Linked DNA regions of Homo sapiens: region 2 is linked to region 1. Evidence: promoter capture Hi-C in human tissues and cell types (Jung and others, 2019). All regions are on one chromosome and are shown on one strand. Each heading gives the region's core, a stretch centred on a gene start or on the middle of the fragment in contact. The rest is flanking DNA. Distances are from core to core; before and after follow the strand shown. Region 1 holds the start of SHISA6 (shisa family member 6). Region 2 overlaps DNAH9 (dynein axonemal heavy chain 9).

Region 1 (7,187 bases), core at 3,559-6,058:
AGGCTTCAATAAAAGGAAACTTAATTATCTCACGTTACTGGAAGACCAGAGATGGGAAGGCCCTGAGCATACCTCTTTGAGTGGCCCAATGATGTTCTGTCCATCTTTTCAGCTGGCACCCTCAGTGTATCAGTCAGGGTGGGCTAGGATACGCTGCAATAATAGGCCTCAATTCCAGTGGCTTTAAAAAGCAGATACATAGAGAGATGGATAGATATTAATAGATAGAGATATAGATAGATATTTATAGATAGAAATATTTATTTTTTTTATATTTATATCTCTATGTACTATCTATCTATCTATTGATCTATATTTACTCATGCTACATGCCCATCGTGGGACACTATTTTTATTAGCTATCAGGCATTCCTCACTATAGTCACCTAAGTACTCACACTGACAAAAACCACTCCCATATAGAACATCGCTGATCACCATGCCAGAAGAAAATGAAAATTCTAGAGTGTCTTGCAGCAGCAATTAGATGCTCTGTTTCAAAAATAACACACATCATTTCTGCTCACAACTCATTGACTGATACTAGTCACTTTCCCCTCCTACTCACAAGTGGGCTAGGAATTGCAATTCTACTACATGCCTGGGAGGCAGAGATATTTGGTAAGCAGTGCTAACAACTATAAAATTGAGGCCGGATGCGGTGGCTCAAGCCTGTAATCCCAACACTTTGGGAGGCCAAGGCGGGTGGATCACCTGAGATCAGGAGTTCAAGACCAGCCTAGCCAATATGGTGAAACCCAGTCTCTACTAAAAATGCAAAACTTAGCCAGGCTCGGTGGCTGGTGTCTGTAATCCCAGCTACTAGGGAGGCTGAGGCAAGAGAATCGCCTGAACCTGGGAGACGGAGGTTGCAGTGAGCTGAGATCACGCCACTGCATTCCAGCCTGAGCAACAGAGTAAGACCTTGTCTCAAGAAAAAAAAGAAAAGAAGATCAACTTCAACTCTTAGCTGGTGCCCCAACCCCAAGGTAACAACATCCAGAGAAATAACACCAAAAAAAGAAGAAGAAAGAAGAAAGAAGGAAGGAGAAGGAGAAGGAGAAGAAGGAGAAGAAGAGAAGGAGAAGGAGGAGAAGGAGAAGGAGGAGAAGAAAGAAGAAGAAAGAAGAAGAAAGAAGAAGAAAAGAAGAAGAGAAAAGAAGAAGAAGAGGAAGAAGAAGAAGAAGAAGAAGAAGAAGAAGAAGAAGAAGAAGAAGAAGAAGAAGGAATTATCACTATTTTTAAGAGCAAGAAAATTTCCCCAGAAACCCCCTGCAAACTTCTCTCACTTAGTATTGGCTAGAACTGGATCATATGTCCCTTCTTAATCCCTGTGAAGGGGAAAAAGATTTATTATGTCTAGCTCAACCCAATCAGCATTTGCCTTCATTTGCCTTCTACAACCAGGGACTGGGTCACTCTCCCCTGAACCTCAGGACTGTCTGAAGTTGGTGGAGGTGTTGGAAGAGATGATTCTTCTCTGGTACTTTTTATTGAGTCAAATCCACAAAGAAAGAGCACTTTAATACTGTCAACAATTCAGGCGCTCAAACTAGAAGGAGAAAAGAGAAATGTATGGTGGTAACCAAGCAACCTTTTCTACTACAAAGGGCAAACCAGGAGGGCTGGAAATGTCAATAAGAAATACAGTGTACTGCAGCAAGAGTTGGGATATATAACCCCTAAGATCTTACACAACCCTGAGATGCTATTATTTCCATGAGTGTTGATGCCACCACTTATGAGCACAGGGGTTCAGGATACATTTATAGGTGGTGGTGGTCTGAGAAACCAAATCAGTTTCCCCTACTTAATGCCGCTGAACAAATCATTAGAGTCTGATGTGAGGAGGACACATTTCTCCTATCCATCATTAAGGGGCTCTCAGACATGGAAAAGCAAATTCTGGAATAATGAAGGGATGGTGAAGGCTCATGGAAGAGACAAAGAAGGGAATAGCTTAGAAATTGCACAGAGTGTAAAGGTAAATATATAAGGCTGTTGTCTTCAAATATGTTCTTATGATTCCCAAATGTATATGCCTGTCTTATCTTCTCTTCTGAGCTTGCAATTCTTGTGCAGGACAGCTCCACTTAGTTCTCTCAAAGGAACCACAACACGACTATTGCTAACTCTGTCCTGAACCTGCTTTTTCAGCCATGCTTATTTCCACTGTGGGCATCAACTCCCAGTAATCTACTGCATCCCTTCATCATTTTTTACCTGTATTATCAGGACAGCTTCCAAATTGCTTTTCCTGCGTCCAGTCCAGTGTTCCCTACTCCATTTGACTCAGAGATCCAGCAAACATGTAAAACTGACAGTGTCTTCTCCTGATTAAAACCCACCAACAGTTCCCCAGCAATTGTAGAATAAATTCAAGTTCTTTGCAAGGGAGGATTCAATACCCTCCTGCTAGCCTTATTTGGAAGACTCCCTCAGGGTTCACGCTAAACTGCTTGCATCCCTGCTCACACACCTTAACCACTTCCTGTCTTTCTGGTTCTGCTAAGGATGTTCCCTCTGCTGGGAGCCTCCTTCCCCTCTTGCTTGCTGTATTAACTCGTAATCCATTCTTCAAGATTCTGCTCTACCTCATTGAGAAAGCTACATTTGACCCCCATCTGTCCCCTTGCAGGCCTAGGCTGGGTGCCTGTCTTCTGCTCTCAGAGCACCCTGCCCGCCTTTATCATGAGACGTAACCTTGCCATGTGGAAATCATTTGTTTATCTGTCTCCCTAATGGTCTACAAGGTCCCCCTCCTTGAGGAAAGGGACTCTCTTATTCATTCTGCTGGCAGGGAGTAGGCACTAAACAAATGTTTGTTGGACAGAATCTTTAAGAAGAAGGTGGCAACTGAGAAGTTAAGGGAACGGGAGGAAGTGCAGAGGAAGAGGGAGGGAATGGAGACAGTAGCAAGTGGGGAGCTGCGGGGATAGTCTGTGCACCGCCCCCCACCCCACCCCCTAGTCAATATCAGGATCTCCCTCTTGTGTCTTGGAGTCTGAGTTCGAGCTCTAATATATCCATTCCACGGTTCCCAAAAGAGGAACTCTTCTGTTCCTGGATAGGGATCCCTTGTTTAGGTCACACATGAGTGGGACTGAACAGAAAGTCTCAGGGAAAATTCTCTACCGCCCTCGCTCTGACAGCCTGTTCCCTGCCTTCAGTTCCCTGCCTTCAACCAAAGCACGCTGGTCACGCAGGCAGAATCTTGGCCTTGGCCATCGCTTTTTGTTCTCAGTTCCCCCTACCTCCTCCAAGGACACACGCCAAGGATGGTACTATGATTCTCTTTTGGGATGGCCTCGTAGCTGTGAAAGTTAGACTCAGGCCTCCTTTCCACAGACCCAGACACGCAACTACCCCGGAAAGCACCCCCGCCCTGCACCCCCATCCTCCTCACCTCCCATAGGAGCTGCAGCACAGAGATTTCAACACAGGGGTTACAAAGCTGAGTCTCAGAGGTTCAGATAGCTTTCTAATGGCCTCGAGGCTCCGCGGGGAAAAAAAAAAGTATAGCAAAGAGTTGCCATCCAGTCCTGGGGCTGTCTAGCGCCTTTATGCGTAGTGGGTACGGGGTTGGGGAAAGAGTGACCAAGGGGAAGAGAGTGTAGGCTCAGCTCACGGGTCGCCCAACAGCCTCAGACAAGCCACTTGACCCCTGGACTCAGTTTGGGAACCTGTAGCAATGGGTTTGACCTCTTCTCCTGGCTGCGAGTATCACCACTAGGGAGAGGCAAAGGCTTGCAGAAACCCCAACTCCCGCTCAGGCAGCGCGCTGCCCCGGGCTCCGGTAGGGTGGGGACTGGTCGCGAAGGCTAGAGAAGGCAATGGCAGGGGAGGTCAGTCCCTGCCGCGGGCCGGCTGCAGAGCGGACGTTCCGCCCTGCTCCCGGCCCCCTCTTCGCCCGCCGGGTTCGCCGTGTCGAATAACTGCTGTCCGGAGCTTTCGTGACGCGGAGCTTCAACTGCTGCGATCCGGAAGAAGCGAAAAGGAGTCCCCCCCGCCCCGCACCCTGAGCGCCCGGGCGTGCAAACGTGGGTGGCGGAGAGCGGCTGCCCTCCCCTCCCCTGTCCCCCCTCCCCTCGCGGCGCTCCCGTGTGTGCGGGTGTGTGAGTGCGTGTGTCTCCCTCGCTCACTCTCGCACACGTTCCGGCACTAGTGCAGGCGGCGAGCCGGCGGCTCTCCGCTCGCTCGCTCCGGCAGCTGCGTTCCCGCCTCGCCCCGCCGCCGCCGCCGCCGCCGCCGCCGCCGCCTCTGCAGTCGCAGCCGGGCATGGTGAGTGAGTGAGGTCCAGCCGCCGCGCGCTCTCCCGGCTCGCCGCCGGACCCCAGCCTCAACCGGCTCCGTCCCAGGGAGCCAGCCTGCGGCGGGAGCGCGCTGCGGGGCCGGGCGGCTGGGGGACCCGGGCGGCCGAGCTGCGCCTGGAGGGGCGGCCCGTGCGCTCTCGGTTCCAGGCGCGCAGGGCCGCGGGACCCCGTCTTGGGAGCGGGCTCTACGCCCCTCCCGGCTCCGAGTCTCTCTCCTCGAGGGCTGCGCGCACCCTCCCCGCCCGCCTGCCCGCGGTTCTCCTCCTGCTCCCGGAGCGCCAGTCGCCCCACCCCGTGACCGGCTCCCCGTCTTGTCCCGCAGGACCCGCCCGGACGGGACCACGCCGCCGCCGCCGCCGCCGCCGCCCGGAGCCGCGCTTCGGGTCCTGCCTGAGCCGAGCCGCGCGCGGGGCCGCAGTCACCGCCGGCGGGGGATGGGGCTGCCCAGGAGGCGCGCCGAGCCCGCAGGGGGAGCGCGGAGCCGGCGCGCAGCCTGAGAGCCCGAGCAGCCCGCGCCGGGCCGGTCCGTGCGCACCGCGCGCCGCCGCCGCCACTGCCGCCCGCGCCTCGATGGCGCCATCGCCCCGGAGCCGCTGACCGCTCAGCGCCTCCAGCCCGGCCCGCGCGGCGGGTCCTCCGAGCCCGGCCCGCCGGGGGAGCGGCCTGCCGCGGAAGCCTCCCCGCGCCCTCCCGCCCGGCCCCGCCATGGCGCTGCGGCGCCTCCTGCTGCTGCTGCTGCTCTCGCTGGAGTCCCTGGACCTGCTGCCCAGCGTCCACGGAGCCCGCGGCCGCGCCGCCAACCGGACCCTGAGTGCAGGCGGCGCTGCCGTCGGGGGCCGGAGGGCCGGGGGCGCCCTGGCACGGGGCGGCCGCGAGCTGAACGGCACCGCCCGGGCGCCCGGAATCCCGGAGGCGGGAAGCCGGCGGGGGCAGCCCGCGGCGGCTGTGGCGGCGGCGGCCAGCGCGGCCGTCACCTACGAGACGTGCTGGGGCTACTACGACGTGAGCGGCCAGTACGACAAGGAGTTCGAGTGTAACAACAGCGAGAGCGGCTACCTGTACTGCTGCGGTACCTGCTACTACCGCTTCTGCTGCAAGAAGCGCCACGAGAAGCTGGACCAGCGCCAGTGCACCAACTACCAGAGCCCGGTGTGGGTACAGACGCCCAGCACCAAGGTGGTGTCGCCGGGGCCCGAGAACAAGTACGACCCGGAGAAGGACAAGACCAACTTCACCGTCTACATCACCTGCGGGGTGATCGCCTTCGTCATCGTGGCCGGCGTCTTCGCCAAGGTCTCCTACGACAAGGCCCACCGCCCTCCACGGGAGATGAACATCCACAGGTGAGAGCGCCGCGTGCCGCGCGCCCCGGTCTCCCCGCGGCCTCACCCTCTCAGCTTGCTTCCCCTGTCCTCTTCACTCTCGGCATCATCACACCTCCCCAGGCCCTCTAGTCATTTCCACCATCGCTCCTTTTGCATGCAATAAATCAGGGTCTTCTTGTGCCCCCTCCTCCATTTCTTCAGAACCGGGAATGCATGCTTTGGTGGTAGGGGGATTTACAAGGCAGAGTAAGAATTGGTTGAGTGCATGAAGTTCCAAGTGTAAGAATGTTACAAATTCTGTAATCGTGGATGAGGATCCAGGGTTCTGCTTTCCTGGCATGAGGGCACTTTGGTGTAGGTTCTTAATGGCATTTAGTTTTTTGAGTCAAATCAGAGTGTCATCTTCAATATAGGAAACTGACCAATGTTGGAACCTTACTGAAAGCGGTACCAAGTGGCTTAGGGTCAACTGAGATGTTCTCGTACATTAGGAATTGGGGTTTTATAGAAAGGATGCCTCCTGCCGGAAGTAGGGATAAAGATTTCTCCATTCCATGTTGACCAAGCACAGATGGTGTCTCCTCATTGCATCCTGCGGAGTGGGATGTTTATCTTTCCTGCTGAGACTAGAGGACTCGTTCTTTGAAACCCTGTAGGCAGAACTCTGAGTTAACAGTACTCGCCTGTGTTAAACCTGGTGGGGCATCTTTCACTGCTTACGTTCGAAAGACAGTGGGAGCTGCCTCCTACCAAAACTTACGCCAAGAGCTCAAACTATGGCAGTCCCTGGTTGCACGCTGAATGCTGCCCCGACGCACCATCTTGCCCCCCAGTGAGCCCTTGGGGAAGTCAAAGCCAAGGGGATGACAGAAACCCAGCCTCCCCTTAGAACTCTAGGAATGACACACCCAGAGGATGCAGAGTTAGCTCGGCTTCCTGTCCCCTCATGTTGATGGATGGCTGGACATGGTGCAAGAGTCCTCTCAGGGAACAAACCCTGCCCCGGGAGATGCCTCCATTTCTGTTGCATGGTGTGGGCACTGCCCTAGTCACCATGAGCACCCCCCAGACCACTGCTTGTCAGTCAGTCCTGCAGGCCCCCACACTGACCCATTCACCTTGAGCTCTTCTCTGCGTCCTGCTTGTTATTCTTACCACCTGAAAACCGCCTTCCTCGCTGCTGTGCACATTAATCACCCCTGCCTTGCTGAAGAGAGAGAAAGGCAGATAGAAATTTCTAGGCATGTTAAAAGAGCTGATTTTTTTTTTCTGCTTGATACTGTGGGTGTTGAGAGAAATGATACTCCCTGGAAGGTTTTATTGAGTCAAATCCACAAAGGGTGGGTACCTCAAACTCGCGTGCTGGAATTGGAGTGATTCCAAAAGGAGACCCTTTTATAAGGCTCTGTCACCCTGAGGTGCCTCCACCCTGTCTTCCACTTGCACCTCATGTCTCAGATAGTGCAGTAAGTATCCTCTTGTGTGAGAAACAGCCTGTGGTCAGTCTTGGCTCTCAAATGCAGAAGACAAGTGGGACGGTGAGCAAAAT
Region 2 (6,249 bases), core at 3,500-5,999, 700 kb after region 1:
GGTGAATCAGAGGGGTCTAGGATGGGGCCTGAGAATGTGCATTTCTAACAAGCTCCCTCGTGATGCAGATGCTGCTGATTCGGGGACCATAATTTAAGAGTGTAACACATGGTCATGTTCCAAGCCCCACTCCCCATTACCTGACAGCCAGATTATTTGAAACCTTGATAGTACAAATCGGAGCCCATGCATCAACATCATTGGCAGGACCTGGGAGCTAGTTAGAAATGCAGAATCTCAGGTCCCACCCAAACTTACTGAATCAGCGCATTTTAACGAGATTCTCTGGTAATTCGTATGCACGTTAAGGAGGGATGATGCAGTGCTATCCTACAGAAGGGGCATGAGCACACAGAAGGGCTGCACCCCACACAGGTGGGATGAGGCAGTGCCAACCCCAGGACTAACCCAAAGGCTGAGAATAGTACAACTGTGAGGTGAGAGCCATGGACGCTCAGGAAGTCTAACTAGAGACTCACACAGTGAGTCAGTCCCATGAGAGTTTGTCCCGGGCCCCACCAGACCATACCTATGTCTTCACAGCATGGCAGGTAGACTGTGATCAGCAGGAAGAGACTTCACACTCGCCTGATATAAGTTCCCAAACTTCGCTAACAATCAGTGCTCTTCCAGTTAAGGGAATATTCACCTCGTCAAGGTTATTCTAGTTCAGGAGCCAAACACAGAGTCAACAGGGCCACCACCTCTTCCTCGTGGGGAAAACGAACCAGGCCCAGATGCCCTGAGAAATCCTTCTGTCTCCAGCCCTTGGGCCTGGGAAGCCCACTCAACAGTAATCTTTCATTGCTGGCTTTCCTCCAGTGACCTCCCTCCCTAAGTCTCACACCAATGAACTTGTGGGCTTTGTTTATTCCCTTTGAACTTTCAAAGGGGACAGTTAATCTTGTCATTAAAGGCAGAAAATTAGAAAAGTACTCTGGTCCTCACTTTTCTCCATTTGACATTCACCTATTTAAAGAATTTCTAGGTAGAGCCTGCCTTCACTGTCACAGTTAAAAAGCTTGAAAGAGGGAAGGCATATATATATGGGGCGTGGGGTTGGCAACTTTCCTGTCTTCACTCTTTGATGTAATTCTTCAAGCTTTTTTTTTTCTTCTTTTTTTTTGAGATGGAGTTTCGCTCTTGTTGCCCAGGCTGGAGTGCAATGGCATGACCTCAGCTCACCACAACCTCCGCCTCCCGGGTTCAAGAGATTCTCCTGTCTCAGCCTCCCGAGTAGCTGGGATTACAGGCATGCACCACCACACCCAGCTAATTTTGTATTTTTAGTAGCGATGGGGTTTCTCCATGTTGGTCAGGCTGGTCTTGAACTCCCAATCTCAGGTGATCCACCCGCCTCGGCCTCCCAAAGTGCTGGAATTACAGGCGTGAGCCACCGCGCCCGGCCTTCTTCAGGCTTTTAATGAACTCCCCAAACACCCCTAACCCTGCTGGGCACTGAGGGTATGGAGAAAAATAAGACATTGCTCTCAATCTCAAGAAGCGTCCCTCTCTTGTGGCTTTCTGTGCTGCCCAGATGGGAGGCCAGCCCCGACGCCTGTGTGGAGGTCTTTCTTCCTTCCTCTCTTTCTTTCCCCCATCACTCAGGTCCCCTATGATGATTTGCGCTACCTGTTTGGAGAGATCATGTATGGAGGCCATATCACAGATGACTGGGACAGAAGACTCTGCAGAACCTACCTGGGGGAATTCATTCGACCAGAAATGTTAGAAGGAGAACTGTCTTTGGCCCCAGGGTTCCCACTCCCAGGCAACATGGACTACAATGGTTATCATCAGGTGAGACTCTGCTCTGTGCTTCTGATGTCGTGAGGGTGCTCACAGGGCCCTGGGTATTCCTCCCACGCCGACCTGCACCACCAGGGAAGCCTCTGCTGGGACATCACCATGGGCTGCAGGCAGGGGCTGAGGCAAAAGGGCTTAGACAGCTGAGCTCATGTCAAATCTGGTCCTATGCCCCAAGCCTGCCCTGTTTAAGTTGAGAGATACGGGATTTCTAGCCTCAAATTAATAATCAAATGGAGCCTTTGGAGATCTTTCGATTCTTGATGATTGGTTCAGTCATTCTGTGTGTTGCTGTTTTCTACAAATAACATCTGGGACAGTTATTTGGTTGTTTTCACTTGGGATGTTGACAAACCCATTTTTTTTTTTTTTTTTTTTTTTTTTTTGAGATGGAGTCTTGCTCTGGCGCCCAGGCTGGAGTGCAGTGGCGCTATCTCTGCTCACTGCAAGCTCCGCCTCCCGGGTTCACGCCATTCTCCTGCCTCAGCCTCCCGAGTAGCTGGGACTACAGGCGCCCGCCACCAAGCCCGGCTAATTTTATTTTTGTATTTTTTTTAGTAGAGACGGGGTTTCACCCTGTTAGCCAGGATGGTCTTGATCTCCTGACCTCGTGATCCGCCCACCTGGGCCTCCCAAAGTGCTGGGATTACAGGCGTGAGCCGCCGCGCCTGGCCTGACAAAGCCGTTTTTCATGGAGCAAAATTTCAGGCAAGACCTTAGCCAACTTTTGGTAAAGTTTCTGTGGGTGATTCTAAATATCCCTGGAGGAGCATGGTCTTGTGCCAAGATCACTCAGGTCACTCACCCCTCCCACTCCGTGTTGGTGGCTATGAACACAGGCACATACCGCATACGTATGCCACAGTCAGCATTCTCATGAAGGCTTTCTTTTCTTTTCTTTTATGAGACGGAGTCTTGATCTGTCACCCAGGCTGGAATACAGTGGTGCGATCTTGGCTCACTGCAACCTCCGCCTCCCAGGTTCAAGCTATTCTCCCTGCCTCAGCCTCCTGAGTAGCTGGGATTACAGGCCCCCACCACCACACCCGGTTTTTGTATTTTTTAGTGGAGACGGGGTTTCATCGTGTTGGCGAAGCTGGTCTCGAACTCCTAACCTCAGGTGATCCACCTGCCTCGGCCTCCCAAAGTGCTGGGATTACAGGTGTGAGCCAGCACGCCCGGCCTCATGGAGGTTTTCTTACTATTACTTCGGTCTTTTATGTTACTATTACCACAGCTATGTTTAAAGTATTCATCTTTGCCTATTTCACCTTCCATGGAAAACATTCCAAAAGATTTTTTTTTTTTTTTTTTATAAGACGGAGTCTCACTCTGTCACCCAGGCTGGAGTGGAATAGCGCGATCTCGGCTCACTGCAACCTCCGCCTCCCTGGTTCAAGTGATTCTCCTGCCTCAGCCTCCTGAGTAGCTGGGATTACAGGCGTGCGTCACCACGCCCAGCTAATTTTTGTATTTTTAGTAGAGACGGGGTTTCATCATGTTGGTCAGGCTGGTCTCGAACTCCTGACCTCATGATCCTCCCACCTCAGCCTCCCAAAGTGCTGGGATTACAGGCGTGAGCCACCGCGCCCGGCCCGAAAGATATTTTTTAGCAGTTTTTATTGGTAGGCTTTTGAACATGCCTAGAAAAACTCTTGAATATAAAACATAAGGGAAATATTGATCACAGGAATATTAACTGCAAGCTTTAAAAAAATTTCTTTAATTCATTAAACTTAAGGGTAAATCGTAAAAGTCATTTGATCCAGAAAAATTGGACCTATAAGAGGAGATTTAAAACAATAAAGCTCTTTAAGGAAAATAAGAGGAAATGTTTTTAACTACTTCACCAAAGGCAAAAAGGCTTTTCCCGGGAAAATTGTGCAACAGCGTCCCCTAGTGTCCATGGGATAATTCGACAGGAGGCTGGAGCAAGTAACAGGCAAAGGAAGTCTGTTTTTCTTATTCAGCAAGGGTGAAATCGATTTGCACATTTCCAAATGACTGAGGTACACTCTCTTTCTTATACTTCTCTTTAATGTGTTAGTTAATAGATGGTTCTAGGGCATCTACATAGAGTCCAGGCCTGCACAGAACGCTGGAGGAAATACAAAAATGAACATACAGATCGGCCCTTGAGGAATGGGCAATCTATTAGGCTAGGTGTTAATAACACCAAGGAATCGTCAAAATCATATCAGGAACGGAACTTGAGGGATATTTTCCCACCATCGTATAAAGAGCCATGAAGAGGCGCTCAAAACATTCAGAGCCAGGCGCGGTGGCTCCCGCCTGTAATCCCAGAACTTTGGAAAGTCAAGGCTGGAGGATCACTTGAGCTGATGAGTTAGAGACCAGCCCAGGCAACATAGTGAGACCTCATCTCTACAAAAAATAGAAATAAAAAATCGGCTTGAGCATGGTGGCATGTACCTGTATTTCCAGCTACTTGGGAGACTGAGGTGGAAAGCACTTGAGCCTGGGAGGTGGAGGCTTTAGTGAGCTGTGTACTCTACTGTACACTACTGTACTCTAGTTTTTTCAGCAGAGTGAGAGCCTGTCTCACACACACACAATAAAATAAAATAAAATAAAACTGAGCCTTAGCCGCTGGTTAGGATTTTTAGGCATTAGGCATGGCAGACTCTAGCCACTAGCACTGGCCACAGAAAGGAGCTGCTAGGGTGACACATAGTTTCAAAATTTTTTTTATTTGAATACCTTTCACCAGGGGCGCAAACTCTCCAGTTCGCAGCCAATCTCACCTCCTTCGTCCTAAGCCCAATTCACTTGTTTATTTTGCATGTGCCATCCCATGTACATGTTCAGGTTTGTCATATCTGATTTAGATGGAGGGGAGAGAAAAGAAGGAAAGGTCTGGAATCCTAGAAGAGCTTACGTAAAATCACTAGGGAGGGATTCGTATTTTTGAAAGACTATGAGAAGTCCTCCTCTGGTCTGCAGGAAAAAGAGTCATCAGGGAGGAGTGGGAGGCATTGGGTGTGGAGATAGATAAAGTCATCTAAGCCTCCCAGAAAAAAGAGAATGATAGAATGAATGTGGAAGTTTTGGGAAACGGGTCCAGCCGACAAAAATGGATGATGTCAAGGTGCACTAATAGGTGGAGAGGGTGATGAAGTCAACCAGGGATGGTGAGCAGTGTCCCCTGGAGGAGGGATACTAGCCCATGGACTCCCTGCAGAGGACAAGCCGGTGTGGGAGATGGGAGGTACGTCCTGGTTTCTTTTTAAGTGAGCTTGCCCTTGATTTTCAGTACATCGATGCTGAGCTGCCCCCAGAATCCCCCTACCTCTATGGCCTCCACCCGAACGCAGAGATTGGCTTCCTGACCCAAACCTCAGAAAAGCTCTTCCGCACTGTGCTGGAGCTGCAGCCTCGGGACAGCCAGGCCAGAGACGGAGCGGGCGCCACAAGAGAAGAAAAGGTGTGTGTGGTGGGGACTGCCTGAGGTCGTTCTGGGGGACCCCGAGGATCATAGATGCACACCTTTCTCCTGCTGGCCATTTTGGCAGTACACAGCATAGACAACACACAAAGCACCAACCACCTGCAGCCTGGAGATGCTTGCCTGTCACCGCCAAGAGCCTCTCCCCTCCCGTCATCACCATGCTGGCCATCAGTTAAATCATAGGAAGTCCCTGCCATTGGGTTCAGCAGTTTTCTTTGCCAGTCCACCCAAAGTCCATTTTTATTCAGCTTCTCTGCCAAAGTGAAGAAAGGGCAGGGCTGAACAGTGGTGGCTTGGGAACCTTGAATGTGACTTCTTGATCCCCTGGCAAACCAAGCAAGGATGGGTAAGGGGTTGCCCCTGAGCACCCCCACCTCAGTTCACCAACCAGATGCCAGTGGGGAAGAACACAGTCCTTCATAATGCAAACGCCTTCCCTTCGTGTGAATGGCTTCTAGTCCGAGAGTCTCTAAATACACAGTTACCTGCCACTAAGCACAGGACTTCCTGAAATTTTAGGAAGGTGGAAGGGAATTATGGAGTAGAAAGGCAGACCAGGGTGAGGTGTGGGTTTCAGGACAACCCAAGGCAACATGGGGGCTCTGATCCTGGTGTGGGGGTAGCTGAAGATAAAGAAAGAATGGGCCTCACACCTGTAATCCCAGCACTTTGGGAGGCCAAGGCGGGCAGATCATGAGGTCATGAGTTCGAGACCAGCCTGGCCAACATGGTGAAACCCCATCTCTACTAAAAAATACAAAAATTAGCCGGGTGTGGTGGTGGGCGCCTGTAATCCCAGCTACTCGGGAGACTGAGGCAGGAGAATTGCTTGAACCTGGGAGGTGGAGGTTGCAGTGAGCCAAGACCGTGCCACTGCACTCCAGCCTGGTGACAGAGCAAGACTGTCTCCAAAAAAAAAAAAACAAAAAAAGAATGGGCCACCAAAGGGAAATTTCTCCATGAATTTTTTTCTG

Evidence for each region. Contacts are between HindIII fragments. The study calls those that stand out against the background at their distance.
Region 2: a contact is called between a fragment that was not itself captured here and the fragment with the promoter of SHISA6 in region 1, in 2 of the 25 tissues and cell types used here (H1 embryonic stem cells and lymphoblastoid cells).

What each region holds. Positions count from the first base shown.
Region 1 is chr17:11,236,405-11,243,591 of GRCh38, forward strand. It overlaps SHISA6 (shisa family member 6), which reads left to right and starts at 4,809. Exons shown (of 6, transcript NM_207386.4): 1 at 4,809-5,656. The coding sequence starts at 5,019. The HindIII fragment of the contact is 17,378 bases long and covers 1-7,187 here.
Region 2 is chr17:11,932,272-11,938,520 of GRCh38, forward strand. It overlaps DNAH9 (dynein axonemal heavy chain 9), which reads left to right. Exons shown (of 69, transcript NM_001372.4): 65 at 1,609-1,800; 66 at 5,081-5,251. Among named protein-coding and RNA genes, the nearest start is that of ZNF18, 62 kb to the right of the region's middle. The HindIII fragment of the contact is 9,228 bases long and covers 136-6,249 here.